2 separate regions of the Homo sapiens genome follow, and region 2 is linked to region 1. The links are contacts of gene promoters, found by promoter capture Hi-C in blood cells and fetal thymus (Javierre and others, 2016). All regions are on one chromosome and are shown on one strand. Each heading gives the region's core, a stretch centred on a gene start or on the middle of the fragment in contact. The rest is flanking DNA. Distances are from core to core; before and after follow the strand shown.

The links. The method cuts DNA at HindIII sites, captures the fragments that hold promoters and counts their contacts. A CHiCAGO score of 5 or more calls a contact.
Region 2: a contact is called between a fragment that was not itself captured here and the fragment with the promoter of CCDC13 in region 1, in 1 of 17 cell types (M2 macrophages). The highest score is 7.2, in M2 macrophages.

The regions. Positions count from the first base shown.
Region 1 is chr3:42,772,002-42,774,986 of GRCh38, reverse strand. CCDC13 (coiled-coil domain containing 13) reads left to right here and starts at 1,734. Exons shown (of 16, transcript NM_144719.4): 1 at 1,734-1,811. It overlaps CCDC13-AS2 (CCDC13 antisense RNA 2), which reads right to left. Exons shown (of 2, transcript NR_122070.1): 2 at 1,352-1,782. RefSeq lists an enhancer at 1,554-1,723 and a silencer at 1,854-2,013. The HindIII fragment of the contact is 4,325 bases long and covers 29-2,985 here.
Region 2 is chr3:42,635,127-42,638,027 of GRCh38, reverse strand. NKTR (natural killer cell triggering receptor) reads right to left here. Exons shown (of 17, transcript NM_005385.4): 12 at 2,662-2,807; 13 at 1-1,160. The region is part of intron 1 of ZBTB47-AS1 (ZBTB47 and NKTR antisense RNA 1); the gene reads left to right. Among named protein-coding and RNA genes, the nearest start is that of ZBTB47, 17 kb to the left of the region's middle. The HindIII fragment of the contact is 475 bases long and covers 1,124-1,598 here.

The DNA of each region.
Region 1 (2,985 bases), core at 485-2,984:
AGCTTCTTGGATGATAAAATGTCAAGCTTATAAACTAAAGAAAATTCTCAAAAGAATTTTGGGCAGAAAAAAAAAATGGCATGAGAGCCTTAGTGGTGACCGTGGAAAAGTAACAAACCTAGAGGAAAATCATCCCTGCTTTTTAAAAAATGGGTTACTGCAAAAATGATATCCTCGTCAAAAATAATCCTTGGATTGCTGGAGCAAATGTTACCCCTTTCCCAAACTTTCTAATACATACATTCTAGAATGTCGGTTCTGAAATTCTCTTGCATCCTTAATTTTCTCACAGCATGTTCTTATTTTAATGAAAACCTGGCTTTCTGCTAGGATCCATGCTTTCCAGAAGCCCTCTAAGTAGACCTGGCTATTCCTTTTCCTATGCCACATAGTCCCATCGTGGTCATGAGGCAAACGAATGATACTCCCCACTACACACACCATTTAAAAAAAACCCTAATCCTTTGAGGCTCACATCTACCTGAATCCTACTCTTTATCCTGTCTCTCTTTGCTGCCACCTGTATATTATACGTCTCCCACCCTCAGCTCACCAGGCAGCAATTGGAGACCAACGGGAAAGATCCATTTTTCCTTTATCAGGAAACTTCGGGTTTATACCTGCAGTGCTGATGGCAGTCTAGTGCCGTATCTTATGTATGCATGTCTATGGGATGGGTATTCATTCACCTTATGAGGAAAAAAAATAGAAAAACAACTGCCAAGGTTTTCAAATTATGAAGTCCTGGATAAATATTTGGGCAGGAGCTGTGGCTCACGCCTGTAATCCCGGCACTTTAGGAGGCCAAGGTGGGCGGATCACCTGAGGTCAGGAGTTCAAGACCAGCCTGGTCAACATGGTGAAACCCCGTCTCCACTAAAAATAAAAAAATTAGCCAGGTGTGGTGGCGGGTGCCTGTAATCCCAGCTACTCAGGAGGCTGAGGCAGGAGAATCGCTTGAACCTGGGAAATGGAGGTTGCAATGAGCTGAGATCGCACCACTGCACTCCAGCCTGGGCGACACAGCGAGACTCTATCATAGATAGATAGATAGATTAGATAGATAGATAGATAGAAAGAAATCTCCCTTGAATCATCTTTCCTAGAAATTTGCCTCCCACCCCCATATTGCCCTGAAATATAGTAGTGTCTTACATTGGAAGGTGCCATTTAAAAAAAAAAAAACAAGTATTTTCCTTTATGAAAATAAACGATGTTCATTATTTTAAAAATTCTCTAAAGTGTAAAAATAAAAACACAGCACTGCTATTCCACCACCCAAATATAACCACTTTTAATATTTCTATTTCGGTCTTGTTTTAGTGCCTAGTTTGAAATAAACACAACTTTATTTATTTAGCATTGCTATATTGCGTCCTGCTTCCTTCACTCACCATCATAACATGGCCTTTCCCCACACTGTTTTACATTTTTCAAATATATCTGAATGGCTACTTTAAATTTCATGGTGAGATCGTTCGCTTTTTAACTCCCCAACAGGAGAGCGGAATGGGCATCTCTGTGCAGAACGTTTGGTCCACAAAACTTTTTTAAAAATATACTCCAGAAGATTTAAAATCTCCAGCGCACTCGAGATCGTGCTCGCTTGGATCCAGCCCAGCGCGCCATCAGCGCCTCTGTCACTTTCAGAACTCTTGGCGCCCCCTCGGCCCCCGTAGAGTAGCGTTGAAAACGCGCAAGTGACGTCGCTTGTTTCCCTGGTGACGGTTGCCAGGGCAGCGCGTGTCGGCGTCCGGAGGAGGTGACCTAGCCGCCGCGGTCCTAGAAGGGAGAAGTGGAGAGAGACCGCTGTAAGTGCCGGGGAGAGCGGAAGGGCCCGGGCCGGAGCTGGGAAAGCCCGCAGCTGCCGGGGGCGCGGAACCGAGCCCGAGCGCAACCCCAGCCCGAGCGCGCTGCCACTGGCCGGGCGCTCACCGCGTGCTGGGCGCCCAGCGAGGACTCTTCCCCTTCGTCCTTTGAATCTTCACACACAGCCCTCTTCTAACCCAGGCAGACGCTTATTTTCCATGCAGTACATGGGTTAATGAGGCGCAGAGGGTGGGTCGCCTGCCCCAAAGTCATAGCGTAGATGGCACAGTCAGAACTCGAACTCAGGTCCGCCTGACAAGCGCTGTTTGCTGGGCCTCTGCCACTGGGCCCTCTCGCACCGCACTGAAAGATGCGACCCGACGGCGTGCACTTCCGCATCTCCCAGTTCCCCTTCCAGGCCCAGCCCCCACAGGACTGGGGACTCGCAAGAGGGAGTTCCCCTCCAAGCCCGGAGTCCAGCCCTGAGAACCAGAGCATCACCCCGCTCCCATCCCAAACCCATCCCTACGAAGATGCTAGCAGTGCACAGAGCGCCAAACTAGGCATCCGTGGGCGGCCTCCCCACACCTCCAGGCCCCTAGACTGTTGTTGAGAATACTCGAAAAGAACACAGTAAAAGAAAAGAAGAAAGAGAAGGAGAGGGGAAGAGAAAAACAATGAAAAAAGTGGCAGGCCGATGGGGCAAGGGGTCTCAATCCTTCCTCACTGGTCCCTGTCACCTATGGTCCCATATCCTGTGGGATCTTGCTTCCTCATAGGACTCCAGAGTGCATGCCACTCTTCCTACTCCCTGGCTCTAAGTCCTACCTGAGCCAAGAGTTCTTTCCATGCAGCTCTAGCCTTTACTTTATTTTTTTTATTATTACTTTTTTTTTTTTTTTTTTTTTTTGACGGAGTCTCGCTCTATCGCCCAGGCTGGAGTGCAGTAGCGCGATCTTGGCTCATTGCAACCTCTGCCTCCCAGGTTCAAGCGATTCTCCTGCCTTGGGCTCGAGTAGCTGGGATTACAGGCGCCCGCCACCATGCCTGGCTAATTTTGGTATTTTTAGTAGAGATGGGGTTTCACCATGTTGGCCAGGCTGGTCTCAAACTCCTGACCTCAGGTGATCCACCCACCTCAGCCTCCCAAAGTTTTGGGATTACACGCATGAGCCA
Region 2 (2,901 bases), core at 112-2,611, 140 kb after region 1:
TGCTATGCTTTTTATGTGAAACGCTATTTTTTTTCCCACTGGATCTAAGTCTCCTCTTAGCTCGCCTTCCATCATCACTGCTAATAGAAGTATATGAAGATGATCTACTACACTGTGAATGATCACTGTATTTATTTCGTGAATGAGATCTAGATGATGGAGACCTAGACCTTGAATGTGAACTAGCTAGACTACGTGATCTTGTATATGATCTGGAATAAGATCTACTCCTAGAAGATCTGCTCCTTGACCTTGGTGAGCTTTCTGAACTTCTATCACTGTATTTTGAATAAGTGCTCTGATCACTTTCCGAATTTTTTTCTCTTTTATGGTAGGATGATGAGCTACCAGTCTCTTTAATATTTGCTAAACTGTAAGTGCTTTGGATGGGTAGCAAATGGGTTGTTTTAGCTTTCATTTCCTGAATTCGCTCATAAGAGGGCTTCCAAGGTTTCTGTCCAGGCTTCCATCTTGAAGGGGGGGGACTGTCACTCAGTGGTATTACAGGAATATTTTCTGCTACAACTGGTTGTACTACTACATTTTCATTTTGTGCCATGGTTGCTCTTAAAGGTTCTGTTTTAACTGGTTTATTTTCACTTAACTGAGAAGCTGTTTTTCTTGGTGATTTTGATGCTCTCTTTCGGTGCCCAGACTTGGAACTAGATCTGGACTTTGATCTACTTCGAGAATGTGATGAGGACTTTGACGCAGTCCTTGATCTTGAGCTTCCTCTAGAATAAGACTGTGAGTGAGATTTTGATCTGTATGAGTCTCTGCTGGAATGGGTTAAAGAGCTCTGGACATCCTTATCAGATTTAGACCAGTCTCTCTTTGATGAGTGATGAGATGACAATGAGGAAGAACGAGAACTCCTTTCTCTATCACAAGAGGATTTCATTCTTCGAGTGGAAGATTTTGAGGATTCTATGTCAGACGGTATAAGAATCCTTCTCTTCTTTGTTTGTTTGTGTCTTCTGCAGTGTTTCTGCTTTTTCCCTTTCTTTTTATGCTTAACCTTTTTTTCTTTTCTGCGTTTTTTATGGTGGCCAGAGTGTCTTGCTGTACTAAGGTCTGAATAATATCCATTATAGGACCATGATCTGGATCTCTGAGACAAGCTTCTTTCATCCCATCGGCTTGAACAGGGGTCACTTAACCTATAGAAAGGACATAATATTCATGCGGTGATTTATAAGCATGTTTTCTACACCTTAAGACACAGCTTTGTTAACAACAAAGTTCTTGACCCCATTAACACTTTAAGCACACGCAGGAAGCGTGAATCAGAGTTATAGGCCTGGTCTTGTTATACTTTCAGAGACACACACTAAGAACTACTAACAAATTCACTTACAAAAGGATTTTTTTTTTAAGCTAAGCAAAGAACCTTACATTTGTTAGGAAAATGTTTTTGAAAAGCAAACCAACTAATCACAAGAACACTGCTGAACTCAAATCACAAGAGTTCCTGGCTGTTATCTGCTCACAACCCTCTGCCTCTAGGACAGTTTTTGAGGGTGAGTCAAACCAAGGTCTCAAACAATTTGTTGATTTTCTGAAGATGCAGGATAGCTGCTTGAAACTAGCATGAAGCTTGTTTTTTCTCCACCTCAGACAGGTAATCCAGATTTCCCCTAAGACTGTAAACTACTTAAAACAGAAATTGAGGAAAAAGTACACAAAAACAGATACAGGTTACAATCTGAGTGTTAATGTCAAGGCTCAGAACTGAAAGTCCTCAGCACCACTGTGTCTGAGCCGCTTCTACACAGCAGATGCATTCCTTTTCCTCCTTTTCACAATTCCAAACCACTCTGCAGGATGTCCCCAGAGAAAAAGAGAATACTACCATGGAAGATTACACAGGGTCCCATTAGTATATTTTTCACTAGCTATTCTGGGGCCTATCCCCTTCCTAAAATAAATATTCAACTGTGGGACATCACTGAAGGTAAGAGATGTGTACACTTCTAAAAAAGCAAGTCTCTGCGATCAACAGTCAACATGAACACCGAGTGCAGGTTTTCCTATTTACCAATGAACTCATCAGTGACCTGGCTGGCTAGGAAAGAATCTGCTATATAATTTCTAAGTCCTAATTATTTTTTTTTTTTTTTGAGACGGAGTCTCGCTCTGTCACCCAGGCTGGAGTGCAGTGGCACGATCTCAGCTCACTGCAAGCTCCACCTCCCGGGTTCACACCATTCTCCTGCCTCAGCCTCTCTAAGTAGCTGGGACTACAGGCACCCGCCACCACGCCCGGCTAATTTTTTGTATTTTTAGTAGAGATGGGGTTTCACTGTGGTCCCAATCTCCTGACCTCGTGATCCGCCTGCCTCGGCCTCCCAAAGTGCTGGGATGACAAGCGTGAGCCACCACGCCCGGCCTCTAAGTCCTAATTATTTCTAAAATTGACTAAGAGGTCATTAAAAGACACAGGCTTATAGTTTTTGTTAAGGAAAACAGGATTTTGATTTAAAAGCCCAACTAGTTAACAGTACTACTTTCATCAAGTAGTCCCAAATGTATTTCCTTTGGTCACAGTCTGACTGTGAATCTTTCACTGAATCTTTAATGAAAAGTCCAGAATTGTATCCAATCCCTTTAACATTTAAAATATAACAGACACAGGATTGTGCTTATACTCAAAGTTCTTACTTATCTCCTTTACTCCATTTTTCTCCACTAGGTGGTCTATATGCTCTTAATCTCTGCATTTCCTCTTTCCAGTGAGGAGGAGTTTCACTGCTGTCATCATCATCTGACTCAGAACAGGATCTTGATCTTGGAGGTGTGTGATAGCGCTTTAAAAACAAAAACAATAGTATTTTAAAAAATGCCTCTCCACGACAGTCTGCTATGTGACAGAGTTAAGTAAAAGACCCAATCTCAGATCAT